Regions from separate parts of the Homo sapiens genome. Here all the other regions are linked to region 1. The links are contacts of gene promoters, found by promoter capture Hi-C in human tissues and cell types (Jung and others, 2019). All regions are on one chromosome and are shown on one strand. The core of a region is centred on a gene start or on the middle of the fragment in contact, and the rest is flanking DNA. Distances in the headings are between cores, read along the strand shown. Region 1 holds the start of GDF6 (growth differentiation factor 6). Region 2 overlaps CFAP418-AS1 (CFAP418 antisense RNA 1). Region 3 has its middle 20 kb from the start of LINC01298. Region 4 overlaps CFAP418-AS1 (CFAP418 antisense RNA 1). Region 5 overlaps CFAP418-AS1 (CFAP418 antisense RNA 1).

Region 1 (2,700 bases), core at 12-2,511:
TCAGTACTGAGGGAAACTCTTCTGCCCATAGCAGTCCAGGGCAGAGCACTGTGGCAGACAGAAGCAGCGCTACGCCGCATCGCCTTTCAGCGTGCAGGCCCAGGAATGAGCGAGGCAGTGGGCGGGGAAGACAGGCACGGGGAATCTGGGGACAGATAAAGGAAACTCGTGATGGGGCGAGGCTGGGCTGAAGAGAAACAGATTGGGGTAGAGCTGCAAAGGGAGGGGTCCACTGGAAGGCGAGGGGGGAGGCCGGGAAGAGAGAGGGTGGGAAGGCAGTGTGAGATGGGAGGGCAGTGTGAGAAGAAAAGCAGGCTGGGGAAGAGGGATTGGAATGCAGAAGGAACTTGGGGAAGGAGGAAGTCCTGCAGGCGGGAGGGAAAGAAGAGAGGGAAAATGGGGATGCAGTGGAGGCGGGGGGCAGGCCGCGAGAGGGAGAGGATCCCGGGAGCAGACGAAGAAGTGGAGCAGCTAAAGTCTGCGTCAGAAGAGGTTGGGGACTGCGAGAGGAGAGGCTGGGGCCTGCAGGGGAGCGCAGCAGCTTTTAGCATCGATCCAAACTCTAAAGACTCGTGGCCTTTGCCTGACCTCGAGGGTCGGGAATAGACGCCTGTCTTTGTGGAGAGCGATACCCAACCGAGAAAATGGGGCTGTTCCGAGCTGGGCCCTGCGCCTGGCCCAGGGCGAGGCTTCTCTGGCTCCGGGCTGGCCCCTGAGGGGCGCAAACGGCAGGCCTGGCGGTTGGGGCCGAGGAGGGAGGGTACCACCGCCCCGAGGCAGCACGCAGCCTGCAGCAGAGGCGCCTGCTCCAAGCTGTCTCTTGGGGGCGCCGCCGCCGCTTCCCTCCTCCGGGGCCGCTCGCTCCCAGGAAAGTGGAGGCGGCTGGCGAGGACCGAGAGCCGGGGCCGCGCTGCGGAGGGACCACACCTCCGGGAGTTCGAGGGGGACCCTGGCGCGGCGGGCCAGCCTTTGCTCCCCGGCCACGGGCCGGCAGCGCCCGCCTTCCCCCGGTCAGCGCTTGCGGCCCGCGCCGCGCGCACCGCCCGGCAACCCCGCGCGCGTCCCGCGGGGGCGCTGCGTCTTCCTGCCACACCGGCGCACCGCGGCCCCTCTCCCCCACACCTCCGGCCCGCACCACCCGGCTCTCCTCCCACCCTCCCCACCCCTCCTCTGCCCTCCCTCCCCATTCCTCCCCTCCCGGCGAGGGGCGGGAGGGGGCGTGGCGGGGCCGGGGTTTGTGTGGCTGGGACCCGGCTCCTCGCACTCCGAGTCCGCCCGAGGAGCCGGGCCCCGGCCGCTGTCCAGCCGCTCCGTGCCCCGCGCGTCCTGCGCCGCCGCCACCGCCTCCTGGGGAGACGCAGCCACTTGCCCGCCATGGATACTCCCAGGGTCCTGCTCTCGGCCGTCTTCCTCATCAGTTTTCTGTGGGATTTGCCCGGTTTCCAGCAGGCTTCCATCTCATCCTCCTCGTCGTCCGCCGAGCTGGGTTCCACCAAGGGCATGCGAAGCCGCAAGGAAGGCAAGATGCAGCGGGCGCCGCGCGACAGTGACGCGGGCCGGGAGGGCCAGGAACCACAGCCGCGGCCTCAGGACGAACCCCGGGCTCAGCAGCCCCGGGCGCAGGAGCCGCCAGGCAGGGGTCCGCGCGTGGTGCCCCACGAGTACATGCTGTCAATCTACAGGACTTACTCCATCGCTGAGAAGCTGGGCATCAATGCCAGCTTTTTCCAGTCTTCCAAGTCGGCTAATACGATCACCAGCTTTGTAGACAGGGGACTAGGTAAGTGGCAAAGAAAACGCTCGACTCCCCTCCCGCTGGAGCTCGGCAGCCAGGGAGCTGTTCCCGCTGGAGGCTACATTTGTGAATTCCCTTCCTGCTCTGGACACTTCCTTTTTACTTTTCTTAAATTGTTTTTCTCAAGCTCGAGTAAGTTTCTGAATGTGGCTGCGGATTCTATTCCAGTCTCTAAACCTCCCTTCCTTTCCCCCCCTTTCTTTCTCTCTCCCTTCTTTCCTTCTTCCTCTTTTGCAGAAGGCAGCGTGGTTGCCGCTTGTTGGTGGCTGGTGGGGGAAACGTGGAGGACGGGAGGCAGCAGGCGGATGAACCCGGCTGGAGAGGGGTCGGGATGGGGACTGATGGAATCGGTGTCTCGGGATACTGGGTTCGCAGTCCAAGGCCTGAGCTGCTGGGGCAGATCTAGGGCATGAGACAGCCTTGGAAAGCCCTGGGCAAAGCCGGCACTAGGGAGTCCCACAGTCTGAGGAACTAGTCCGCGAGCGGCGTCGGGCAGCCCCCTGGTCCTGGCGCCGCGCGGGTTTTCCGTTGGTCCCTGCGCTGGGTGGGATGGTCAGCCGGGCTGGAGCCCTGCGCCCTCCGGCTTTTTTGCTCCAGCGTGGTGCTCCCGGCTGCTCCGAGGCCTCAACACGAGTGGTTTCTGCAGATGCGGCGGCAGCAGTTGGGCGGGCCGGGACAGGGACGGCTAAGTTCGGAGGTTGTGGGTACTTAATACACAAAGGTACATGGGTATGCCCATCCACCTTTCTCAGCCAGGCGACGTTCCTCTCTCTACGCTATTCCTGAGGGCTGGTGGGGGTCTGGGAAATCCCTGGTACCCTCTGTGGGAACGCCTGCATGTGTGGGTGTCTGCGGAAACCCTTGCGGCCCCTTCTTGCCACCGGCGTTGATCTGCAGCGTGGCCA
Region 2 (2,700 bases), core at 76-2,575, 760 kb after region 1:
ATCACTCTGGGGATACAGACAGCTCTCTCCTGTGTTACAGAGCCACCTTCCCTGTCCTGTCAAAACCATAACCCCCTCTCACCTGTCCTATGGCTGACACTCTTAGCCCAAACTTCCTCCCCCGACCACTCACAATGACACATCGACATGGCTCTCACTGTGACTCTGGAGGCAGAGAAAGAAGCAGAAGGACACCTGGGTTTTCTGCCACTGAAACTGGAACACAGTCCTTGAGAAAAAAAGATGTTAACGTCCAGCGGGACATATTTTTCCATCAAAACATTGTAAAATGAGTAGAGGTTTCACATGACGCTCATGTCTTGGTATGTGTTTGTTGTTTTTAGAATAGCAGGCCACATATCTGAAGTGATACATGCATATATGATGTAGGCGTTACCATGGCAAATGCCATGCATTTTTTTGGTTGAATAGAAGGGTAAATAAGGGTGTAAATATTGCATTTTCTGTTGTCATGGAGATGTAACAACCTGGGCCCTCATCATTTTGGAAAGTTTTTTTATTTTATTATTTGGCTTCATTCCCTGCTGTGACTCTTCCTATCAGAAAGTCTCCAGGTCCTGCCACTGCTGTAATTATGCTTACCCAACCAGCATACTAGATTTGTCCTTTCAGATGGGATATTGCTGATCCCTAGGGGAGAAATTCTTCTGTTTTTTTTCTTTGTTCCCAGATGTGAAATCTATATTTTCAACATGAAAAGTATTAATGTTGGCCGGGTGCGGTGGCCCACGCCAGCACTCTGGGAGGAGGCAGGCGGATCACTTGAAACCAGGAGTTCAAGACCAGCCTGGCCAATATGGTGAAACCCCATCCCTACTATAAATACAAAAAAAAAAAAAAAAAAGTTAGCCGGGCATGGTAGCAGGCTCCTATAATCCCAGCTAGTTGGGAAGCTGAGGCATGAGAATTGCTTGAACCCGGGAGATGGAGGTTGCAGTGAGCCAAGATCATGCCACCGCACTCTAACCTGGGCGATAGAGCGAGACTCTGTCTCAAGAGAAAAAAAAAAACAAAAAAAAAAAAAACCAGTATTAATGTTAAAAACATGTCAATACGTCACAATTGTCTTTAGTCTGCCTGGCTATAAAGAAGGGTGTCTTTTCCCAGTCTTGAAGGGTTTTTTAAATATTTTTAAACAAAGTGCTTTAATTCCTAATTCTGTATGTCAGCATAGAAAGCCAGATGTTTAATGTTTGCAGAGTCCTGACATCTCCATCACCGTCATTGACTTAGATGTTTCTAGCATGTAAGCTAGAACCTGTGGTTTAGCATCTGCTAAACTTGTCTGTAGTCTACAGTGAACAAAACTCTAGATTTGGAAACTTAGATTACTTATTCTAAAATATGCCGGTTTGCTTATTACCAACTAACAAGCATATTGGACAAGCACTGAAACATTTAAGGAGCACCTACAATGTTCCAGGCATTGTACAATGCATGGGGAATTCAAAAATAAGTAAAGCACAGTCCCTCCCCCTAAGGAACTTGTCTTGTTGATAAAACACCAAGGTGTTTCTTTGAATTTTTATGTAGGGCTGAAGTTGGATTTAATTGCCTCTAAGGTTTCTTCTAATCCTAAGATTCTTAGATGCTAAACTTTAAATTTAATTCTACAATGAAGTTCAAGGCTAAATTAACACTAACATCAAAAATTTACAGTTTATTTTGTAGTTGCTACTGGTAACAAAAACTAATTTGACTATACTTTTGCTCATTGAAAGAGGTGGTTAGGCCATGGAGGCACAGTCTGATTACACTGTGTTCTCTTCCAGACCCCAACCAGCTAAATAAGTGCCAACAAGAAGACAGACCCACTCTAGCCAGAGACGAGGCAGCCCAGAGCAAGGTGGGTCCAAAAGGAGTATCTCCAATGATTACCTCCAGAGTGGAAGAATTGGCTACCTTCAATCTGTGGCAAACAAGCTTTATCCACCACACCCCTTACCTATTCATGTTATAGATATTTGACATTGTCCCTGGTCTAATCATTCAGACTTGGCACTTCAGTGTCATCTTGAATTCCTTCTTCTTCCTTGTCTCCAACTCCCAAAGTACTACATATGATTTTTGTTTGAAGTGAACATAAACTCAAGATTTTATTGTCTTCATGATAAAAGATGACACTTAGAACTGGATCACTTGGCCCTTTCTCTTCTTATCTCCTCCCAGTTCAAAATGCTTGCATCTTTTAATAGCCAGCAATCTCTTAGATCTGCAGAAGTACTACATATGATTCTATATTGTGTGTGAATGCATGCACATATGTGCATGCATGGGGAGACTTGAAAAGTACACACTGTGATTCAGATATTGCAAAAAAAAAAAAAAAAAAAAAAAAAGTCTTTTATTTTGTTATAACGACTCTACTTTTTTTGAGCCCCCACATCTGCTGATGGCAGAAAAACAAAAATATTCAAAGCAGCCAATTAAAACCACTCAAAGTTTAAACTCCATGTGAGGACAGCTTCTTCCCTCTTGAGAGGTCTTTCTCCCTCTCCTCATTCCCATGAAGTGCCAGCATTTCCCCCAGCAGTGAAGGGGGCCCTGCAGACCTAGGTCCAGGCTATCCTCTGCTGAGATGTTCCTCATTGCCCTGCTCACTGGAGTCCTGTGCTGGAGGCAACAGAGCTGTACTCAGCTGGTCCGCCTGCCTCTGTCAGCTCTGAGCTGTCACTTTGC
Region 3 (2,700 bases), core at 102-2,601, 920 kb after region 1:
CAATAAGACCTTGGGCATATCACTTCCCTCTTTGGGCTTTAGTATCCTCACCTATTAAAAAACAATTCTCTAAGAGTCCTTACTGCCAGTATAAAAATATGAGGTTATACTAAGTGATTTTTAATGTCCCTCCCAGAATAAAAGTTCCATGAATCTCTTTTCATAATGTAATCATTCAGAAAAGATTATTTCATTTAGGTTGAGTGTGTATTATGATCAATGTTTCTTTTAGTCCCCTAGAAACAGTCAATGCCAACTTCAAGGTTTGAGTTCCCTAATGACCAATTCACTTTACACAGAAAAAAGTAACAGCCTCCAAAGGTTGACAATACCAATTCCTCCCACTAGGAGAAGTATCTTAGAGTGCGTGGCCCTCTAGAAAGTGAGTCACTGGCACCATCTTCCATTGCAAAGAGCAGCACTTATTAGCAATGTTAGATAGAAAGCAGGACTCTAGAAAGTGGATGGAAAAAATAAAGAAAGTACATAACATAGAAACCATTTTAAGTTCTTAGAGTCAAGTAAAATTGACATTCACAGGTATGTAGGAAAAATTGTAAAAGATCTCTCAAAGAATATAATGTTTTATCCTTACATAATTTTTTGAGGGATGGGGGATTAGACAAGAGTTTTCCCCATGGAGTAAGGTATATTCTATCATAAATAGCTATAGCCTCAGCCTCTGGTGGTGGAAGGACCCCACAAACGCTTTTCAAGTCCCTTCCATCTGGCCTTGGTTTTCCTCCACAGCTGACTATGCACTAAAGGACTTCTTTCCACTCTTTCCACTCAGATTTTAAGGAACAGTTTTAGGTATTGTATTCGGTTACTAGCACAAATTTATTCTGAAATAGCCTAGGTCCAGTGATAAATCAAGGGAGTGAGAAGGAAAGGATTTGCATGGCCCATGACCCTGCCCCCAACCTTGAAGGCACAGATAATGTGTGCACTCATGATGCTCAGCACCACGTCCTCGGCAAAGGAGCTCCAGGCCACTTCTTGCCTTTGCCCCTGTTAATAAGCAGAGTCTCACATTAACAGGCTGCTGCATTGTGTGAGGTTATGAGCACAGGCCTGGGGTTAGACTGCCTTGATTTGAATACTGGCCCTATACCTTATGTGGCATGTGATGTTCTACAGGCCACGCATCCTCCCTAAGCCTCTTCTCCCCAGCCTGTGCAACAGGGTTAAGAATGCTCACCTCACAGAGAGTGATGCTGGGAGGAAGTGGATGGGATAATCTATGTAGAGCATTTAGCGAGGCTCCTGGCACATAGTAATTACTTAATACGTGTGAATTATTTGCTGAGATCTCTGTACAATGTAAAAATGCATACCTTAAAGATGGCTTTCTGCCATGATTCTACATAGGTTTTTTCCTTCAACATTCTTCTTTTTTTGCCTTAAAATGTTTAATTCCCACCAACTTTCATCTTACAACAGGAGGCTCAAAGTGACAGATTTAAAGAGAGCCTTCAAAGCGAGGACCATTTCACTTAAATGCCCACCTGCACTGTGCTAGGCATGGCAGTGGACCCAGAGGTGCCAGACACCAGACAGGAGCAAGGGTTGGCAAAACATGGGTCATTTCCTAAGGCATTGTAATCATTGGTCTTTTACGTAAGGTGTCTTTGACTCTGCTCAGTACCAGACATCAAGTACTACAGGCATAGTCCGTGTGTTTAGGCTGTTTCACAACTGAGTGAAATTCAACAGTGGCCATCCCCCTGTTGCTCATCATTGATTGTAATGTGACCAAAATGGAAACTGCTAACCTATGTGTCAATGCTTGTGCTGGAAACATACTGCTTCCAGATAGGGGGAAAAAAGCAATTCAGTTAAACGTCTCTTTTATGGTCTATAATTCTTACTGCAACTTCAGGTCGGCTGTTGCGTCATCAAGTCACATTCTGAACCCAACTCTGGCTGTTTCTCAGGCCTGAGGGACCCAGCAAAGGAGGGAGGTCCTGAAGCAGCCTTTCCAGGGGTAGAGTTAGTGACTTACAGCGAAGAAGAAAGAGACAAATTTGTCTCCAGGGACTCAGGGTTGTAAAAGACCCACCATCCTGAGCCCTCCAAACAGTGAAACAAGTTGAGAATCTAACCCATAGCGGGCAGACCTACACTGAGGACCAGATCTCATTTCTTTGTTGGGCTTTGGTCTCTCAGGAAAAGCACCCAGAACACTTCATCCAAATCTGCCTGCTGTTAACAATATCCCATAGTGGTGGAGGTAAATGTTTTTCTCTGGCTGAAAATAGAAATCCTCCCTAGCGTAAACCCCCTGTCTTTGCTTTTAGGAGAAAAGGATAGGCACCAAATATTAGGATCTTTCCAGGGAAGTTTACCAGCCCTTTCTACACAGAAGCACTTGTCATCTTGAGCTTGTGAGCTTGAGCTTGAGCGTAAGCTTGTGGGCTTGAGCTTTCTTTCTGGGAAAGAAAAATTGGAACCTTCTAACTGATTCACTTAAATAATCAATTCCGTAGCACTTAAAGGAATCTAAGTGGATCTAAAGTTAAAGAGAAACAATGAAATGATTCCTCACTCACAATGAAAGGTTGAAAATCGAGGTAACGACCTTGGTGAGCAGAGAGAGGAAATCGCAAGGGCAAGTGGGTTAATGCTGATGGGCTTTTTGAGACCAGGAAACCATATCTTCATGACCTTTGAGCATGATTGTTCAGCACAAATATTTCC
Region 4 (2,700 bases), core at 44-2,543, 720 kb after region 1:
TTGTTGGTGAGTGAGACACCAACTTCCGTATAACTTGTTCCCCAAACATCAAATAGTCAAACAAATTCTAAGTCAATTTGAGGGGGTGGTTCCTGGCTAATTTAAAGCCTGAACTAAACAAATGCATGTCTCCTAAATACCCATACCAGGCATTAATCGGCCAGAGTTCCAGAAGTTTCAAGCTATGATGACAAAGACGTATACTTGGGGTGGGCAAGGAAAGAGCAGGCAAGAACCCCAACAGGGGGGCCTAGATATACTTTCAGAGCTAGCAGGAAATGATTATCAAAGCAACCAAACTGTAGGTATTCTGGCAAAATTATGGTGGTGATGGTAACTAAACGACATCTCTAATTGCACCATCAACCCCAGAAGTATAGCAAGACTGAACTGGGCTCACAGCTGGGAGAAAGTAGCCATGATGTGCTGGGTTCAGTTCAAGATTATAAATGGCAGCACCCAACAGAGGCAGCAACACATGATCCTTCCAAGTTGGTGAGAACCAGCCAGGCGCCCAAAGGGTCTCCATCTTCAGGAAGTAGAGCATTTGGTACAGGACAGTTTGTGATACTTCTTTTGAGCAATTTGCTTGCTGGTGACCTCTACACTTATTGGTCATGCTGCATATAGGGAGAAACTTCCTAGAGAAATTACCCCAAACCCCTAAATATGAGGTCAAAATGACCAACCCAGGACAACTGTGAAGGCTACTCTATTTCAGAGAGAAATTAGGACTGGCCAGGCCAGTATGAAAAGGATCAGCAGGGAAGGGGCTATGGAGGCTATGAGGTCTAGGTCTCCTGGGCCATTCCTCAGGGTTCCCTAGAGTTCCCCTTGACCTCAGCTTAGCATTTAGTGTTTTCACCCTGAAGAGTCAACTGTTGCACACCTTTCCCCTCAAAAGACTATAAGCAAGAACAATGTCATTTTCCTTTATATATTCCAGATCATTTGGCATAGAAAGGTAGCACGGTAGAGAGGAAAGAACAGTATGGAACTGAGCCCTGGCATTGAGCCCTACTCTGTCGGATAGCACAGTGGTTGAAACTAGTCTATGGAGCCAGGTTGTCTAAATTCACATCCTCCCTCTTCTTATTGACTATATGATCTTGGGCAAGTTGTTAGTCACTTTGCACCTCAGGTTTTGCACATGTCAACTGAGAATAATAATGCTCTGAGAATTAAGTGAATGTAAGCACTTACAGTAGTATTACTACTATGGTAGATCATATTATTAGTGTCCACAGCTTAACAAACTAGTACATGTTAATTTGCCCCCTAAGCTTTAATTTTCTCATCTGAAAAAAATGAGGGCATAAGATCCAATCTCACAGGATGGGATATAGGATAAAATTGGATAATGGAAGTCAGAAATATGTTGAACGAAAAATGCAATCCGAATGCTTGTGTTTCCCATTATTGTTGCACATAGTAGGCACTGGAATCAGTGATTGCTAAAATGTGGAAGCAAAACAGCCATGGAGAGATTGGATCAGATCCCCTCAAGATTCACCATCCTCAGATCTTGCACAGGAAAGTTATTTGTAAATGTGAATGCCAGACAAGTGTTCCTCGTTAGCTATGTATGGCCCTGGAGACCAAGACTGCCATGTGGTAAGATCAAATGAAGAGACAGTCCCTGCCAAGTGCGGTTCTGAGAACATCCCCTTCATGTGCCTGAGAAATGACTCCCCCGGAGGCCTCCTGCACTGCACTGGGCCCTGGCTCCCATCTTGCCCACCTCCATGAAGACCCCTGCCCTCCCTCCAGCAATCCTCCAGTCTTCCCATTCCTAGTTGGCAAGGAAGACAGAGCTCAGCACATTCCACACTCCATCCCCCTAGATCCACCCCAATGGTGTGATTCTGCCTGACTGCCCCACACAGCAGCTCTAGGAGGGTCAAAAAGGAATGTGCTCAACTTGCCAATGCTGGGGCAAAACCAAAGCCAGCATGTCCTGTCATCCAATGGAGCTTAGTGCTCTCGTCATCACCACTACAGAGACACAAAGCAGGCCCTGGGAAGAGCCTGCACCTTCCCCAGAGCCAAGGTGACCAGAAAATCACATGATGTCGTAGGTTCTCCTGCAAAAGCTGGGCCACCAACACTGGAGCCCTGGAAAGCCCTTTCCGAGTGGACGCCTGGCAAATGAGAGGGAAGAAAGGGAACTGGCAGAAAAATAGCATATGCCACTGATGTTCCCTGGCTCCACCTAAACCTTAAAAATGACTCATTTAAACTCAAATTTGTGGTAAGCTAAAATAATGACAATGAATTGGAAGGCATTCCTTCTCTAGATTTGGAGTGCCTAGAAAATTTTTGTAAAGAGATTTTGAGCAAGGACTTGGCCTCTCTGAGCTGTGTCATCTGTATAATGGGGATTAAAATACTGATTGTGCATGGGTTCTATAAAGAGAATGTACAAAAGGAAGCTGGTACATAGGATGCTTGACTATTAATAAGCCAAGTAGTTTCACCCAGTTCACAGTAGATCTTGATTACTTTTCCTTAGATGCGAGGCTCTTTCATGCAATTACCCCAAATAGCTGAAGGCTATTTGCCTGCAACTGTGCTCATGGCACACCCCAGAGCTGACATTCCCAAGACTCTTTCTGCTGGTGCCTCCATTGGTCTAACCAATTTTTACAGGTGCATTTGGAAATTGATAAATCCGTGGTGATGAACGTGCTGTTCACAGCA
Region 5 (2,700 bases), core at 59-2,558, 630 kb after region 1:
AAGTCACGATGTTAGAAGAAAAAGTTGAATTGCTTCATATGTACTGTAGATTAAGGTCTGCAGCTGCTGTTGCCTACCATTTCAAGATAAATGAATCCAGCGTAAGAACCACAATAAAACAAAGAAAAGGAAATTCACTAATCTATCACTGCAGCTACACCAGCCAGCACAAAAACCTTGTACTTTTTGCAAAATACCTTTTTATCTCATATTAAAAATGTAGCTTTTATATGGTTACAGGATTTCTATAAGAAAGGCATACCTATAGATTCTAATACGATTCTAGAAAAACAAAGTCATTATGTGACAACTGAAAGCAAAAGGAAGGTGAAGGATCTAAACCTAGAGAATTTAATGCCAGCAAAGGATGGTTTGATAATTTTAGGAAGAGATTTGACTTAAAAACTGTCAATATAACAGGAGAGGCTGGGCGCAATGGCAGACGTGAGTTCCCAGGCACCATTAAGGAAATCATTAAGGAGAAAGGACATCACACCCAGTACCCTATGAAAAGAATTGTCAATCATTGAGGAGAAAGGACATCTATCTAAACAGGTTTCTAACACAGGTAAAAGCAGCTTATTCTGGGGGAAAAAAAAAAAAAAGCAATCAAAGACATTTATTGCTAAGGAAGAGAAGCAAGCACCAGGATTTAAGGCAGGAAGAGATAGGATAACTGCCATTTTGTGCAAATGCAGTAGGTTTATAATCAGGACTGCCCTTATCTCTGAATCTGCTAATCTCTGGGCTTTGAATGGGAAAGATAAACACCACCTGCCAGGCTTTTAGTTGCACAAGAAGGTCTGAATAACAAGAACACTTTTTCTGGATTGGTTCCACTGATGTTTTGTCCCTGAAGTCAGGAAGTACCTTGCCAGAAAGGGACTGACTTTTAAAGTTCTTTTCATATGAGACAATGTCCTTGGCCACCCAGAACCCCATGAGTTCAACATTGAAGGCACTGAAGTGGTCTACTTGCTCCCAAACATAAGGTCCCTAATTCAGCCTCTAGATCTGACGTCATATGGACCTTTAAGGCTCATCACACGCAGTACTCTATGAAAAGAATACATGTACCCTAAAACTTAAAGTATAATAAAGAAAAAAAAAAGAATTGTCAATGCTATGGAAAAACCCCTGATAGAGAGAACATCATGAAGTCTAGAAAGATTACACCAATGATGATGAAAATGTCATTGTTCTTATATAATGGAAAAAGCTGTGAATGTCATCAAGCCTGAAACAATAAATTCCTGCTGGAAAAGACTGTGTCCAGATCTTGTGCATGACTTCACAGAACTTATAATGGAGCCAATCAAGGAAACAATGAAAAAGATTGTGGATAGGGCGAGAAAGGCAGGGCCTGAAGGGTTTCAAGATACAGGTCTTGGAGAAATACAAGAGCTAACAGATACCACACCAGAGAAATTAACAGAAGATGACTTAATGGAGACGAGTGTTTCAAAACCAGTGCCAGAAGAGCAGGAAGAAGACATAGAAGAAGCAGTGCCAGAAAACAAATTAATATTAAACAAACTGGCAGAAAGAAGGGTTTCAATGATTCAAGGCTGTTTTTGACTTCCTTTACAATATTGACCCTTCTATGATATGGGCACTGAAGCTAAAGCAAACAGTGGAAGAAGGATTGGTACTACATAGGAACATTTTTAGAGAAATGAAAAAAATAAGTCAGATAGAAATTATGATGTATTTCCATAAAGTTACATCGAGCATGCCTGTCTCTCCTGCCTCCCCTTCCACCTTCTCCACTTCTTCTGCCTATGCCATTCCTGAGATAGTAAGAGTAACCCCTCATCTTTTCCGTCTCTTCCTCCTCAGCCTACTCAACGTGAAGATGACAAGAATGAAGACATTTATGATAATCCACTTCCAGTTAATGAGGAGTAACTATATTTCGTCTTCCTTATGATTTTCTTAATAGCATTTTCTTTTCTCTAGCTTATTGTAAGAATACAGTATATAACACATATGACATGCAGAATATGTGTTTATAGACTGTTTATGTTATTAAAGCTTCCAGACAACATAAGCTATTAGTAATTGAGTTTTGGAACAGTCAAAAGTTGTACACTGATTTTCTACTGTGGAAGGAGTTGACACCCATAACCCCCATGTTGTTCAAGGTTCAACTGTATAAATATATAAGTACTGCTTTATCTGCATTGAATAAATCTGATACATAATATTTTCCTTTTTATTCCATTCTATTTTCCACATTTCATTTTTATTTTTCTTTGACCCATGAGCTATTTTGTCTTTAAATTTTAAAACGTGTGATTGTACTTCATTAATCTTTTTGTAGTATATTTCTAACTTAGTTGCATTGTGATCAGAGAATACAGTCTGCATAACAGTTCTATAAAATTTAATCAGACATATTGCAGTAACTAGTCAGTTTTCATAAATGTTCGGTGGATGCTTGAAAAGGATAATTTTTCTCTAATGGCTTGGTATTGGAGTCAAAGTATCAAGTCTGATGACTGTGTTGGGTAAATGTTCTTTATCCTAATTAATTTTTCTGTTTGAGTTATCAGTTGGTAAGCGTTATTTTAATATTGCTTATAATGATGGTGGTTTTAAGAATATGTATCCTCATTGTTCAGCATTTTTTATATGATTTAAAGTTATGCTTTTATGTACATGCATGTTTTGAACTGTTATTCCAAAGGAATTCAACCT

The links. Contacts are between HindIII fragments. The study calls those that stand out against the background at their distance.
Region 2: a contact is called between a fragment that was not itself captured here and the fragment with the promoter of GDF6 in region 1, in 1 of the 25 tissues and cell types used here (dorsolateral prefrontal cortex).
Region 3: a contact is called between a fragment that was not itself captured here and the fragment with the promoter of GDF6 in region 1, in 1 of the 25 tissues and cell types used here (lymphoblastoid cells).
Region 4: a contact is called between a fragment that was not itself captured here and the fragment with the promoter of GDF6 in region 1, in 1 of the 25 tissues and cell types used here (lymphoblastoid cells).
Region 5: a fragment that was not itself captured here is called in contact with the fragment with the promoter of GDF6 in region 1 in 2 of the 25 tissues and cell types used here (lymphoblastoid cells and mesenchymal stem cells).

The regions. Positions count from the first base shown.
Region 1 is chr8:96,159,367-96,162,066 of GRCh38, reverse strand. GDF6 (growth differentiation factor 6) reads left to right here and starts at 1,261. Exons shown (of 2, transcript NM_001001557.4): 1 at 1,261-1,780. The coding sequence starts at 1,375. The HindIII fragment of the contact is 22,921 bases long and covers 1-2,700 here.
Region 2 is chr8:95,403,340-95,406,039 of GRCh38, reverse strand. The region is part of intron 2 of CFAP418-AS1 (CFAP418 antisense RNA 1); the gene reads right to left. Among named protein-coding and RNA genes, the nearest start is that of TRS-AGA2-5, 130 kb to the right of the region's middle. The HindIII fragment of the contact is 3,195 bases long and covers 1-2,700 here.
Region 3 is chr8:95,234,997-95,237,696 of GRCh38, reverse strand. No RefSeq gene overlaps it. Among named protein-coding and RNA genes, the nearest start is that of LINC01298, 20 kb to the right of the region's middle. The HindIII fragment of the contact is 6,913 bases long and covers 1-2,700 here.
Region 4 is chr8:95,438,780-95,441,479 of GRCh38, reverse strand. The region is part of intron 2 of CFAP418-AS1 (CFAP418 antisense RNA 1); the gene reads right to left. Among named protein-coding and RNA genes, the nearest start is that of TRS-AGA2-5, 170 kb to the right of the region's middle. The HindIII fragment of the contact is 3,815 bases long and covers 1-2,700 here.
Region 5 is chr8:95,529,140-95,531,839 of GRCh38, reverse strand. All of the region lies in intron 2 of CFAP418-AS1 (CFAP418 antisense RNA 1), which reads right to left. Among named protein-coding and RNA genes, the nearest start is that of TRS-AGA2-5, 260 kb to the right of the region's middle. The HindIII fragment of the contact is 6,368 bases long and covers 1-2,700 here.